Linked DNA regions of Homo sapiens: region 2 is linked to region 1. The links are contacts of gene promoters, found by promoter capture Hi-C in blood cells and fetal thymus (Javierre and others, 2016). All regions are on one chromosome and are shown on one strand. Each heading gives the region's core, a stretch centred on a gene start or on the middle of the fragment in contact. The rest is flanking DNA. Distances are from core to core; before and after follow the strand shown.

The links. The method cuts DNA at HindIII sites, captures the fragments that hold promoters and counts their contacts. A CHiCAGO score of 5 or more calls a contact.
Region 2: a fragment that was not itself captured here is called in contact with the fragment with the promoter of ZBTB47 in region 1 in 1 of 17 cell types (M0 macrophages); the score reaches 5.7 in M0 macrophages.

What each region holds. Positions count from the first base shown.
Region 1 is chr3:42,648,508-42,655,453 of GRCh38, forward strand. ZBTB47 (zinc finger and BTB domain containing 47) reads left to right here and starts at 5,190. Exons shown (of 6, transcript NM_145166.4): 1 at 5,190-5,376. ZBTB47-AS1 (ZBTB47 and NKTR antisense RNA 1) reads right to left here and starts at 5,881. Exons shown (of 3, transcript NR_125400.1): 1 at 5,487-5,881. It overlaps NKTR (natural killer cell triggering receptor), which reads left to right. Exons shown (of 17, transcript NM_005385.4): 17 at 1-228. RefSeq lists an enhancer at 5,164-5,805 and silencers at 5,811-6,170, 6,211-6,290. The HindIII fragment of the contact is 5,084 bases long and covers 4,166-6,946 here.
Region 2 is chr3:42,723,646-42,730,392 of GRCh38, forward strand. All of the region lies in intron 13 of CCDC13 (coiled-coil domain containing 13), which reads right to left. Among named protein-coding and RNA genes, the nearest start is that of CCDC13-AS1, 5.6 kb to the right of the region's middle. The HindIII fragment of the contact is 1,104 bases long and covers 2,105-3,208 here.

The DNA of each region.
Region 1 (6,946 bases), core at 3,940-6,439:
ATTTTTTAATAAAATTGAATTATGTTGTGTATTGTGCTTCTTAATAGGAAATGCATTATTGGACTGTTTTTGTAACATCCTGTTTATTGCAAATAGCTAGTATCGTTCAAAAACTGTATAAAATACTTTTGTACATATTAGCAATGTCTAATTTGTATACACTTCAGTTAAATTTCCCTAAAACTTGAAAGGGGACCTTGTAGAAATTAAAATATATACTTAGTCTAAGTCTGAGTCTGTTCATGTTTTATCTTTCTGCTGACCCAGCCAGTGAAGACACCTCATCTCCTTTGGCAGCTCCTTTTCTTCTCCTAGCTGAGTGTTAGTGGTGGGTGTAGGAGGTGGAGCTAGAGAGAATGTCAGGCAGAGATTTTAACCTACACAGGTAAGCATTAATGATGTTTGGTCTTCCTCCCCTGGAAAATCCAGATTTCCTCTACACTTTGTTGTCATCTAGTTAAAATGACCTGCATAAAGATGTCTTTGCTGAGGGAGGAATATGTCACATCCCATGTGTGAGTTTCTACCTAGAGACAGTCCATTTACCTACAGCCTCTACATTTCCCTCCCTAACGGCAGCGCACTAGGCAGTGCAGCACATGTCACTCACTCCCAGAGAAAACATTCATGGTGATATTTTTAGTATACACATAAGAATTTGCAGGGGAAGTACAATTAACTTTTGTCTCCTCAGAACTGAAAGGAATGTCTATTTTCTTAGTGAATACAACATAACTTATTGTAGTTAACTTCTCACTGCAGATACTCAGTTTTTAAACTGAGTTAACAGTGGACTCCTTAGTTGGGCAACTCCTGAAATTTGTCAAATCTGGATGCATTCCTTTAAAATGTAAAGAAAATGCAGGATCAAGTTCTGATAGTGGTAAACTTGATAGTTGGGCAGTATTGGGGGGAAAATGTGCCAAGGACTTTGGTCTTGACTCTTCTGAATTAGCTGGGCATTAAATAGGCGGGAAGGTAATTCAAGGAAAATGCCCCTCTTGCAAGAGATTATGGACACTAACTGGGCATCACTGTTTAGAAGAGACGGGAGGTGGCCAGGCATGGTGGCTCACGCCTGTAATCCCAGCACTTTGGGAGGCCAAGGCGGGTGGATCACTTGAGGTCAGGAGTTTGAGACCAGCCTGGCCAACATGGTGAAATCCCGTCTCCACTGGAAAAAAAAAAAGAGGCTCTACTCAGTTTTTCAAGGCAAATGCTGAGCCTTGAAGGAGTGTTGCAAACTAATGTGGTCAGGTGAAAGGATGTGGAAGCCATGCCTCACAAGGTGAAACGGACTGGGTTCAGATTTCCGGAGAACTCTGGTTTTTGGAACAGAGAATCAAGTCTGCTGTTCCCCACAGTGAGGCAAGAGCCTGCAGGCCCATGAGGGCCTTGTGGTAGAATGAGCTGGGAAGACAGCAGGGAGAAGTTCTTTGATGCAGTAAAGGCCCCTCAGGAGTCCAGAGGTGTCAGGGGAGGACGCTGGGTACCCTGAAAGAACACCTGTTCATCTCAGGACAGACTGGGAAGCTTGTCGGGGCCTGGTAAGTGCAAGGCAAGGAGAGCCTGCCCTGGCCACATACACACAGGGCTAGGAGGCTTTAGTGGTCTGTTTTCTTTCAAAGTTTCAGTACAAGGTAGAGATAGTGCTCCCTTGCTGCTGCCTCCACTCCTCACTGTGAATCAGAAGGCCCCAGGTAGGCCTGCTGCCTCTTGGAGACCCCAGACCCACCACTTACTATAGCCCATCAAACTCCAGCTCCCTAGACTGAGCTGAGCTTCACAGCCTGCAGAACCCAGGCTAGCTTGGAGAGGGTTGCATCTCTTCAGCCCAGAGCCTTGAGGACATCAGGGTAAAAGGAGTGGCCACCTATATTTCTAGTGCTTTAGGAGGCCTAGGCAGGAGGATTGCTTGAGGCCAAGAGTTCAAGACCAGTCTGGACAACATAGCAAGACTATTAAGACAAGAACAGAACAAAAAGCAGCTGGGCATGCTGATGCACACCTGTAGTCCCAGCTACTCAGAGGGCTGAGGTGGGAGGATCACTTGAGCCTAGGAGGTGGAGACTACAGTGAGCCATGATTGCATCTCTGCCCAGCTTGGGCAACAAAGCAAGACCCTGTCTGAGAAACAACAAATGGAGTGACCTGAGGTCTCAGGACAAACACCTGCATTCTGCATCTTGAGCCCTGATCCTGGGCCTCCTATGGCTCATAAACCCCTGAAAGAGGGTATACATGACTGGCACACTCAGACATGAGAGACAACCAGGGGTGCTCATCCCTTCCCAGCCTGCAGACGAGTCTGCCTCCCAGTGGACCTGGCCCACAGGGGTTGGGTGTATAGGCTGGCACTTCACCAGCCTCTGGTCACCTAGGACCTCTAGCAACTAAAATCTCCCATCAGGCCAGGTTCCCAGAGAAAGCCTAAGAAGAGTCCCCACTGACCTCAATGCCTCCAGCCTAATTTGGTTTTATTTTGAAGAAGCAGGGGGACTTCTATGAGCAACTATGCTATGGTACAATCGTTAAGGTCTCTGGGCCAGAACCAGGCTGCTTGGGTTCAAGTTCAACTCTGCCACTTCCCAGTTGGGTAACTGGAAGGAGGACAATTTGCTTGACCTCTATAATTCAGCTCATCTGAAAAATGGATGCTAGGGATTCCTCCTCCTAGAACTGTGGTGTATTAAACGTTTAGAAAACCAAGCATACATCAGTGGTTCAGAGGTGGTGGCCCCTGAGGTGGTGACTCTAGGAGAAGTGAAGGAGTCCCAGAGGGTTCATGTGTGGAGCCAGGTTCACTCACTAGGGAGAGGCCCAAGGCCCCCAGAACCAACAGGGCAGGAGAGGATCCTAGAAGCTGCAAGAGAGACGTGAAATGCCAAAGCCATGATGTTTATGCTGTGAGGGAACCAGGCAACCTACCGGTTTGCATGAGGCCCCCAACCCAGGGCAGCTGTAGCCTATTAGTGCTGGGTTCAGTGGAGGCAGAATTCAGGTGTAAACTCCACCCTTAACCCACCCCACACCCTGGGGATTCATGTTTTCCCGCCCTACTAGAACTTTGGGCTTCGGATCAGCGCCTAGTGGGTAGCTTTGAACTTCCCTGCCAGCCCACTGGCCACATGCTGTGCGAGTTGAGTTGCATTGCCTGTATTTTTCTGGCATTGCCCACTCTGCTCTCCCTCTTCCCCAGGCTCAGCTACACACAGCTCCATGCCCTCCGGGCTGACTCAGTCCTGCATTGTTCCCACACACATACGCATACCCACAACCTGGGCTGTTCTTTCTAACTTCAGTGGGGTTGAATCTGGTTTCCCCAACTAAGCCTGGGGACACTCCAGCACTGAGGGTAGATACTTAGGGAAATTGAGAGAAAACCCATGAGCTGTCTTCTAGAGGCAGGGGCATAGCTTTGCTGACCTTGTCAGGACCCAATCCCAAATATGTGAAGGATCACTAAGCTCTGCCCTTGCTGGGTGAGCGTCTCCAGACTCCTGACTCACCCCTGGGGCATGCATTTCTGGCCCAGGAGTCAACTCCCCAATAACTCAGTCCCTCCCTCCAGAAAGCCTGCCTTGACCTCCCTGAAGTGAAGCTCCTACTGCATGCCCCTCATCAGGACCAAGAGAGAAATTCTGCCTCTGCCTAGCTCCACCTGTTCACTCCCACCAACCAGACAACTCCTGATCGATAGGAATCTTGACTCCACTACACCAAATCCCCTCTAGTTCCCTGCAGATGCTAAATTGTCTCCACCTCCTGGCCTTTGCAGGCTTTCTGTCTGGAAAGCCCTTTCACTCCCTCATTGCTCTAGTTAATGTTCAAGTTCAAGCCTCAGCTCTGAGCAGCCCTGTGGGCCCACCAGACAGCTCTTCAAACCACTCCTTCCTGCCAGGTCCAGTGTTGCCAGGTGCCCACAGCTGCTCACAGAGCTCAGGCTCTGCCCTGGGACTCCCCAGCTGATGAGCTGCAGGCCAGAGAAGCAAGAGGGGAACAGCCGAGGCCTTCAGGGAGACTGAGTGCCTCCCCACCACCTGTCCCCTCCCTTCTCACCCAACCTCCAGCCCTTTCTGCAGCTTGACTGCTGGAGCTAAGGCCCCAGCAAGGCCCCATAGGGCCAGCATCACTACCTCAGTCACGCTGGCCACACCCTCTGTCAAGCTTTGGCTTGGCAGTGGGCCTAGCAATGTCCCATGCAGCTCTCTCTGCCAGGCTTCTTCCAGCCCGTGGAGGGGTCCCTTCTCCCCACCTCCCCTTCCCCTGGCTCCTGATGCTGATGCCTAAGTGATTTGTCCCGCTCTGAGCCTCAGAGTCCTTATCCAACCAATGGGCACACAGCCCCTCCCTAACTAACTCCTGGGCCGGTGCTAGGATCCACTGTGAGTCAGATGAGGAAGTGGGCTGGGGAGGAAGAGGCAGAAGGCAGCCCTCAGCGGGCTAGCTGGTCAGAAGCATGTAAGCTGCTCTGGCCTGGCCTTAACCTGGGGCCTCTGGGAGCTGGGCCAGCTGTCTGTGCACCCATGCAGGTACAGGATGTCTGCAGCAGCTGCCAGGGGCTTCCAGATGCCCCAGGTTTGGCCCCTGAGACATTTTCTCCCTAGCTCTGGGATAGCCTTATCCTGAGGCCCTACGTATTCTGGCAGAGAGTGGGGGTGGGGGAGGAGGCCCTTGCAATCTTACAGGACAGACCATCAGGCTGTTTCACAGCACCTGCCTAATACCCTGGTCTCTCCTCCATTTCTCCTCTGGCACCTAGAACCAAGTCACCCTGAGCCAGCGCCAGAGTTCCTGCCCACTCGTGAGTAGGACAACATACCCAGGAGATACTGCTGCAGCTGGACATGGACTTGTATGTAAACACAAGCGCACATATGTGGGGAGGGGTGTGGAATATCAGGATGGGGGCAACATGAGAGTGACCCAGGATGGGCAGTAGTGAGCTTGGGGTAGGAGGAGGGGATGTCCACAGAGGCCTCTCCTCTACAATGGTGGCCCAGTCACCATCCAGACCTTGCCAGGTCTAGTGCCCCGTGGTCCCCACCCTGCTGCCTGCTCAGCCTGGCAGCCTTCCTTTACAGCCTCCTGCCAACAGAGCCAGCCCCCTGCCCCCACGGGTGTCCATGCCAGAGCAGCATTCCGCAAGCCTGGCTGCATCTCCCCAGCAGAGGCTGAGCAAGGGGGCCACTCAGCAGTGGTCAGGTCACACGGCTAGAGGGGCACAGTGGGGCCTGGGCCTCTGGTCCCTACTCCTCTGGTCCCTCTGTCTCCTGGCCCTGGGCCAGTCACCTTAGATGATTTGATCGCTGCGGTTGTAGTCCTGGGATTTAAATCTCCTGCCCTGGGTGGCCCTATGCAGCATGAGGCCGCCAGGTAGGTATGGGTCCACTGGAGCCAAGTCCTGGAGGCACAGAGCAAAATGAGCCCTGCGCCGCCCTGGGATAGGGATGGGGGACTGGACCAGTTGGGGACCCCAGACTCACCCCCAGGTCAGAGCAGCCCAGGCGAGAGGGTGGGGGTGGTGAGCGCGGCTGGGGTGCGGGGTTCAGTCCCTCAGCGTGGGATCCCTCAGGGGAGCGGGTGGAAGCCTTTTCTGTTCGGATCCGGGGCCCGGCGCGCTCAGCTTCCTGATTTCACGGCAGCTTCCTATCCTGGCTCCCCCTCCGTGGCGCAACCGGAGGGCAGCGATGTTTGACTCCCGGACGAACTTCCCGGCAGAAAGGAGGCTCAGCACGGGAGGGTGGGGCCGGGGTCTATCTGCTCGGATATGAGCAGTGGGGACGGGCTGGGGGCTGGAGCTGGGGCTGGGGGTGGAGGGCAGCCTGCGGCAGGGCGGGCTGCACGGGGACCGCGCACACCACGCGTGTCCGCGCCCCCCGCCGGCACGCAGGCGGCCTGGCCCTTTAAGCGTCCAGACGGCGGCCCCAGCTGACGCGCGGGCTCCAATCGGCGCCCCGCGCCCCCCGCCCGCCGCGCCCGAGGCTCTGGGGCCGCAGCTGCTTGGCGCTGGACTCGCCGCGGCCCTGCGCCTCCGCCTGCCTGGCCGCGCCCCCGGGGGCCATGGTCGCGGGGCCCTGCGCGGGGGCGGCCCCCAGCGCGGCGCTTCATGGAGCGGCCCTGGCCTGGCCGCCGGGGGCAGCGCGATCCCGCGGGGCCCTGTGAGCCCCCAGCGCCACGGCACCATGGTACGCAGGGCCCTGCCTGTCCCCCCGCTTATCCGCCCACCTGCCAGCTCTGACCTCCCAGGCACACGGCCCGCGGGCCCGGGTGGAGGGGCTGGAGGGATCTTCCCCCCTCCCCCGGTCTCCCGGCTCCATCTGCTGGGTCCCGCGGGCCGGGAATGCGGCGCTGTGGCGCTGCTCTCGGTGGGGAGGGGGTTAAATTCCTGTGGTGGGGGCGCCGGCGCGCGAGGCTGAGGTCTTGCTAGGCACCGGCGAAGGGGGGCGCTCCCCTGCGCCCGGACGGCGCCGCCCTCGGGCTGGGTAATGGGGGGAAGAGGGAGTCGGATTCCCGCCTGGGCCTTGGGCCACGTGGGCGCTGGAGCCGCCCTGCCTGGGGATTCGGGATGACCCGGGCCAAGGGGGTGTGGGAGGACACCCAGAGCTCCCGTACCAACTCCTGTGTGACCTTGGGCAGATCCCCCGCCCTCTCTGGGTCTATTTCCAAGGGAAAGAGGGGAGGTAAGTGCACAGAGGAGGCTGGCATGGACACTCCCTCACCAAAAGGAGGAGCCTAGAGGTCATGAGCCTGTGCCCCCTTGCTCAGTCTGGGCCCCCCCACTGCTGCCCAGCATAGAAAGAATTGACATGGGAGGGGGGCGCAGATGGACTCCCCAGGTTTCATCATGGGGCCTTCCAGGGAGGCTCTGAGGCAGGGTAGAGAGATGAGGCTTCTCATCAGTGAGGCAAGGTACCCCTCAGGTGTAGAAGGCTCTGACTTGGGT
Region 2 (6,747 bases), core at 1,407-3,906, 73 kb after region 1:
ATTAGGTTAAAGGAAAAAATCAGGTAATCCTTCCAATAGATACTGAAGAAGCACTGGTAAAATCAGTAGCTATTCCTGACTTTAAAAACTCAAAGTAAAATGAGAATAGAAGGAAACAACACAATAAAGTATTTTAAAATCAGAAACTAATAACCCATCAATAGAAGAATGGTAAATAAATAACAGTGGATTTATACAATAAAATATTCTGTAACCATAAAAGGAAAACGTACTGACATGAAAATGCAATATACTAAGTAAAATAAGTAGCAGAAGATTATGCATACTATATGATCTAATTAAAAAATTTACAACAAATTAAAAATTTAAAAACAAATAAATATAAGGTTAATATAATTCAGCCACTTGACTGAAAACAAAAAGGAATATGTGGCAGCTATTGACTCAACTGTGGGGGAGGGGCTTTCACTTTTCTGTTATGAATTTCAATAATGTATGCATTTTGTTTAACTCCATTTATAATAGGGGAAATAATAAACCAACAGCAAAACATCATATAAAATAGCAAACCACATTGTGAATTCCCACAAAATTTTAGGAATAAGCAAACTCTTGATTTCTCTCCTTCTCCCCTATAACGTGCCTTCCACATCTCAATAAATATTATCCTCACTCATGCAGTTGCTCAGCCCAGATACCCGGGGGTCACCCTTGCCTTCTCTTTCTTCCTCATCTTCAGCTTCCAATCTATCAGCAGGCTCTACAACTTTTCCTGCAAATATGCACCAAAACCAGCTCTTTCTCTGTCCTCGCCCCCTCTCCAGACCTGAGGCTGCTCCTCCTGCCTGGGATCTACAGATGTCCGTAAGCTTCAAGACCTCTTGCACACTTTGGTATTCTGATTATTCTCTTTTGACCAATCTCTGGTCTCACTGATTTTCTTCAGTTGTTAACAGGCCTAACTCAGCTAGATCCTAATTTGTCAATGTATTTGATTGCGATTCTAATAGTTCTCCAAACTCATGTTCATCAATCTCATGAAATTCCAAATATTTTGAAAGATTTACCTTTTTGCTTCATAATTGATTTTCATTGTATTTCAAGAGTCTGACCAAAGTGACCCAATGCCAATGTGAAGTGAAGAATATTAAATAGTCAAATGATGACTGTTTTAATATTAAAAATTTTGCTTTCATGGGGACTGTAACTGTGGGGGTGCTGGTAAAAAATACTCAGATAAGGAGGTTTCCCCCTACCTAAGAATGCTAAGAATGAATTTAGCATAATGACACAAAATCTTCATGAAGACAAACATACATAATATTACACATTATATACATAATACCATATATATGATACATAAAGTGTTCTTTTATAAGTCAAATAAAAATATAAACAACTCTAAAACATGTGCAATGGCATGAATAGGTAGTTAAAAGAAAAAAACATAAAAGTTATGTGGAAAATATACTTATCCTCACTTTTGGTCATAGCAAAGCAGATAAAAACAAGGAGATATTAGCATTTCCTTGTTAGTTTGGCAAAAATGTTAAAGATTAATAAAACATAGTAACTGTGAGGGTATGGGGAAAACAGTTCACATTATTGGTAAGAATGTAAATTGATTCATTTTAAAAGGCAATTTGTCATGATTTGTGAACATTTTAAATGTGCATATTCTTTGATTCAGCCATTTCTTTTTTAGGAATTTGTGATACAGATATACTCCCATAAAAATGTAAAGATGCATTTAATGTAAGTCTATAAAAATATAAAAATTAGCCAGGCATGTTGGCATGTGCCTGTGGTCCCAGCTACTCCAGAGGCTGAGGTGGGAGGATCACTGGAGCCCGGGAAGTTGAGGCTGCAGTGAGCTGTGATCACACCACTGCACTCCAGCCTGGGTGACAGAGTGAGACCCTGTCTCAAAAAAAAAAAAAAAGAGGACTAAGATAATATCCATCTACAAGTTCAGGAAAGTAGTAAGGAAGCCTGCAGTCTATCAGGGCCTTGGGAAATGGGGAGGAGGGGAGGAAGCACCAATCATGTGAAACTGAAACACAAGGGCAGCATTCATGTGTTCAGGGAATCTAAGCCAATAAATTCACATAAAGTACCAATCAGAGACCACTGAAACCCTAAAAGCTTCACAGAGACAAATGCAGAACACCTCCACAGAAACACGGTCATCACCTAAGAACTCCTACAAGGAAAAAAGCCCCACTGAAGATAAGCTCATAAAATCACAAAAATTGAAACCACACAAGGAAATAATTTACTACAAGGGGAGAGCCGACAGACATTACTTAGGATCCTAATTAATGAAGATGGTAGAAAACTCTAAAGGGAATAAGTTCAAAATTATTTAAAGGAGAAAGGCAAAAATTGTAATGAAAGAACAAATGCTATAAGAAAGAGAACAAGAGGGTTTTGTTGTTGTTGTTTTGTTTTTGAGACGGGGGTGTTTTGCTCTTTTTGCCCAGGCTGGAGTGGAGTGGCGTGATCTTGGCTCACTGCAACCTCCGCCTCCCAGGTTCAAGCAATTCTGCTTCAGCCTCCCAAGTTGCTGGGATTACAGGTGCCTGCCACCACACCTGGCTAATTTTTGGATTCTTAGTAGAGATGGGGTTTCACCACGTTGGCCAGGGTGGTCTTGAATTCCTGACCTCAGGTGATTCACCCACCTCGGCCTCCCAAAGTGCTGGGATTACAGGCATGAGCCACTGTGCCTGGCTGAGAACAGGAGCTTTTACCGAAAAATACAGTTATCAAAATAGGTTTCATGGTAGATGAAGCACAACTGAAGATATTTAGTGATCTAGAAAGCTGATTTGAAGAAATCACCCAGAATTCAGCCCAAAATAGTAAGGGTAAAGAGATGTGGAGGAAAGAATAAGTCTAACATATATGGACTAGGAATTTTAGATTAAAAGAATAGGGAGAGTGAGGAAGAGGCAATATATGGACAGCAGTCCTTGGGAATATATAAAGTCCTTGGATTGAAAAAGAACACTAACTTCTGAGTAGATAAAATTACGTATAACATATTTACATATATTTACATATGTATACTTTACATATACATACATACAAATATACACACATATTTACATGTATATATAAAATATATATTTACATATATGTAAAGTCACACATATATACATATATACATATATGGGCATATTACATATATACATATGTGTGTGTGTATACGTATATGTATATACGTATCACAGTGAAATTTCAAAGCTTCAAAGACAAAGAGAATAATCTGAAGAAGCATCGGAGAGAAAGGACAAATCTATTAAGGAATGACAATAAAACTGATAGCAGATTTCTTTTTAGCAATAGTAGATGATAAAAAACAATAGGATAGCCTGAAAGTGCTGAGAAAAAAATACCCATCTATTTAGAATTCTATGCCCAAATTTCTCTTAAATTCTCATTCAAGACAGGCAAAATAAAGACATTTAAAAATAAACAGGCCAGGCGTGGTGGCTCATGCCCTTACTCCCAGCACTTTGGGAGGCTGAGGCAGGCAGATCACCTGAGGTCAGGAGTTCGAAATCAGCCTGGCCAACATGGTGAAACCCCATCTCTACTAAAAATACAAAAATTAGCTGGGCGTAGTGGCTCACACCTGTAGTCCCAGCTACTCGGGAGGCTGAGGCACTAGAACCACTTGAACCTGGGAGGCGGAGGTTGCAGTAAGCTGAGATCATGCCACTGCACGCCAGCCTGGGTGACAGAGAGAGACTCGGTCTCAAAAAAAGAAAAGAAAAATAAATAAATAAATAAATAAAATAAAAATAAACAAATACTCAGAGAGTTTACTATTTACATGGCCTCACTGAACTAAAGGGCATCTCAGTAAGAAGGAAAGTGAACCTAGAAGGAAGATTGAGATACAAGAAGTAACAGTGAGTGAAGACATTTTCAAACATGTTGGCAAAAGGAAACGAATATTCACTATTCAGTATTCAAGACTTACTTTGGAGGGTTTAATTTCAGGGTTTAAAAAAAGAATGTGGAAGAGAAATATTAGGAAACAGTAACATGAAAGGCACAAACGGAGAAATCAAAGTTAAAACATTCTAAATGTATTCTTTTGCTTAAAGTGATAGTAGCAAAACCAACTAACTTTAGATTGCTGAGTTTGATGTTAAAAGTTAAGGGTGACCACTAAAAGAACAGAGATAGAATATCTAACTTCCAAACTTGCAAAGAAGTAAGAGAAATAAAACTTGATCAGTCCAATATAAGGGAAGAAAGGAGAAAAAAAGGAACAAAGAAAAATCATGGCAAATAGAAAATATTAATTAAAGTGATTAAATATTACCAAAATCAAAGTGGATTAAACGATACTGTTCAAACACAGAAATTCCCAGATTAAATTTAAGAACAAAGCCGACTACGTGCTTTTTAAAAAAGAGACATATTTAGTGACTTTTGTCATGGTGGACTAACCAACTCCTATTGTAAGTAACTAGAAAAATTGATAAAATGTAAGAAAGAACTTGTTTTCAGACAATGGACAACAGGACGACACACACTGGATACAAGACTTGAGGAAAGGAAGGACTTGAGCTTGGCTCGCCCTTGGCCTTGGCTTTCTGCCTGAGGCACTTTCCACTGCAGGGTGGGGTGGGGGCAGCCACGCAGAGCACCCTGGGATGCTGGGATGAGCACACAGGATTAGGGAACTGGGTGGGGGAGGGCAACTGAGGCAGCTGGAAATTGTAGGGCAGAGTAGAGGAGAAGGGAAGCTAGGCAGAGAAAGACTCCCCCCCACCCTCCCCTGTGCAAGGCTGGGACAGACTCTGCAGATAAAGAAAGGAGTAGATATTGAGGATCTCTGAGAAACGAAGGTCCTGTACTTTGGGATAGTTAAAACATTAGTTAAAACGTTTAGTTTTACTTTAAAATAGTTCCTTTGGTTTAATTGGCCAATCATCAGTTTTGAAAGGAATCATCATTTTTGATGATTGGCCAATTTAGTTATAACAAAATGGTTTTAGTTTAAAACATTTAGTTTTAAACCAAATAGATTTGAGGGAATTTGAGTGCAGAAGGTACCTGGGTTCCCTTTTCTTGTTACAGCCCAGGGACTTAGCAATAACCTCAAGGAAAAAAGGCAACAGGTGTTGGTTGATGGGCCTGGCACAGCCTCACAGAGCCCCAACACCCCAGGATGACACAGAGTAGCAGGAGGAACCCAAGGACCCAAAAAGGGCCAGCATATTCGCAGACAGAGAGTTGCATGTATGTGACTGGGTGTGAGCACCTCTTTACATTTCATACCCCAGGTGCCCTGCTTGCCTCACCCAATCCTAGCCCTGTGTGGAGAGGCCCTGAAAATGAGATCTCACATGGAGACAGAAGCCACATGAAGGAGAACTGAGGCATCCCTGCTGAAGTGCCAGCTGCATGAGACCAGTGAGTGACCCCAGCTGACATTATGTGGGGTAGAATTACCCAGCCAAGCCACAGAATCGTGAGAAAGCACAAACCATTGTGTTTGAAGCCACTAGGTTTGGGATGGTTTGTTATGCAGCAATAGCTAACTGAGTCACCTTTTTCACACACCCCCAAACTCGGATGTAACTCAAGAGAAATGAGAGAGAAAGCCTGCATTGAGTATGTTTCTACTACTTGATAGACTAAAGACTTGTACTATCCATTACATTCCAATTATAGAAAAAGAATCAATGTTGCTTTTCTCATATACTTGAGTATGTCTGAAATTCACATCATCTCTATGTACTATGTGAAAGCAAAGCTGACCACTCACTATTTAGGTAGCAGGCATCCTTTGTTTTGTCCTTCCCTGCACCCCTAGCTCCTTCTTTTGCTATCAGTACCCCCATTTTCCCTTTGGCAAACTACCTTTCCTGCATTCTGTGAGCACCCGGAGGAACTTCAGTCAGAGTGCCCTCACATGTGGGGTGGATACGGGCGCAGCACTGGCCAGTTCAACCTTCTCTCCCAGAACCCATGGGCACAAGAGCTAAAAGCCATTTGGCCATGCCATTTCAGTGGCCCAGGGAACTGCCTAGGGTTTCCTGCTACCAAAGATGCCTGCACCTTCTCAGGCTCCTCTCCTGCTCTCTGCATTGGAGTCTGCCAGTACCTTCCAAAAATCTGCCTTTCACTGAATTCAGCCAGAATTGCTTTCTATTGTCTGTCATCAAAGAGCCTTGACTGATACATGATATAGCCTGTTAGGGCAGAAACTCAGTGGTGTGCTTAATATTTTTCAGTGTGGAGGTCACATGGTTGAGCCATGTGTTGGCCTGGACACCTGCAATTCTTGCCAAAAGGATCATTTGAGCGAGGAGCACTGATTTATCTGAACGGAAGTCTGTCAACAACCCTTTAGAGAAAACCATACCTCCTGGTCCAGTGCCTCAGGCCTCGTGCTTCCCTCCCTGCCTCCCCAGCTATCAGCACCTCTCTTGTTCTTTCCAATTCCAGATGTCAGTCTAGCTTGTGTTTTCTTCCCACCAAACCCTCCAGCAGCACCAAGCACAGTGCCAGGCTCATCACAGATTTTAATTATTGATGGATTGATTTGACTGATTTACTTCTGGGTGTCTCTCCCCCGAGACTCCCAGCAATGTCCACATGCCATACAACAGTCCCATTGGGTGCATGTAGAATGGGGCTGTTCCTAAGGGCAAAACACAGTGTGACGACAAGGCCCCAAGGTTGTGGGGCGCATGAGTTGTGGCTAGGAATGCCCTGGACCAACACTGGGAGCCGAGCTCTCAGGTGAGGAGGACCCAG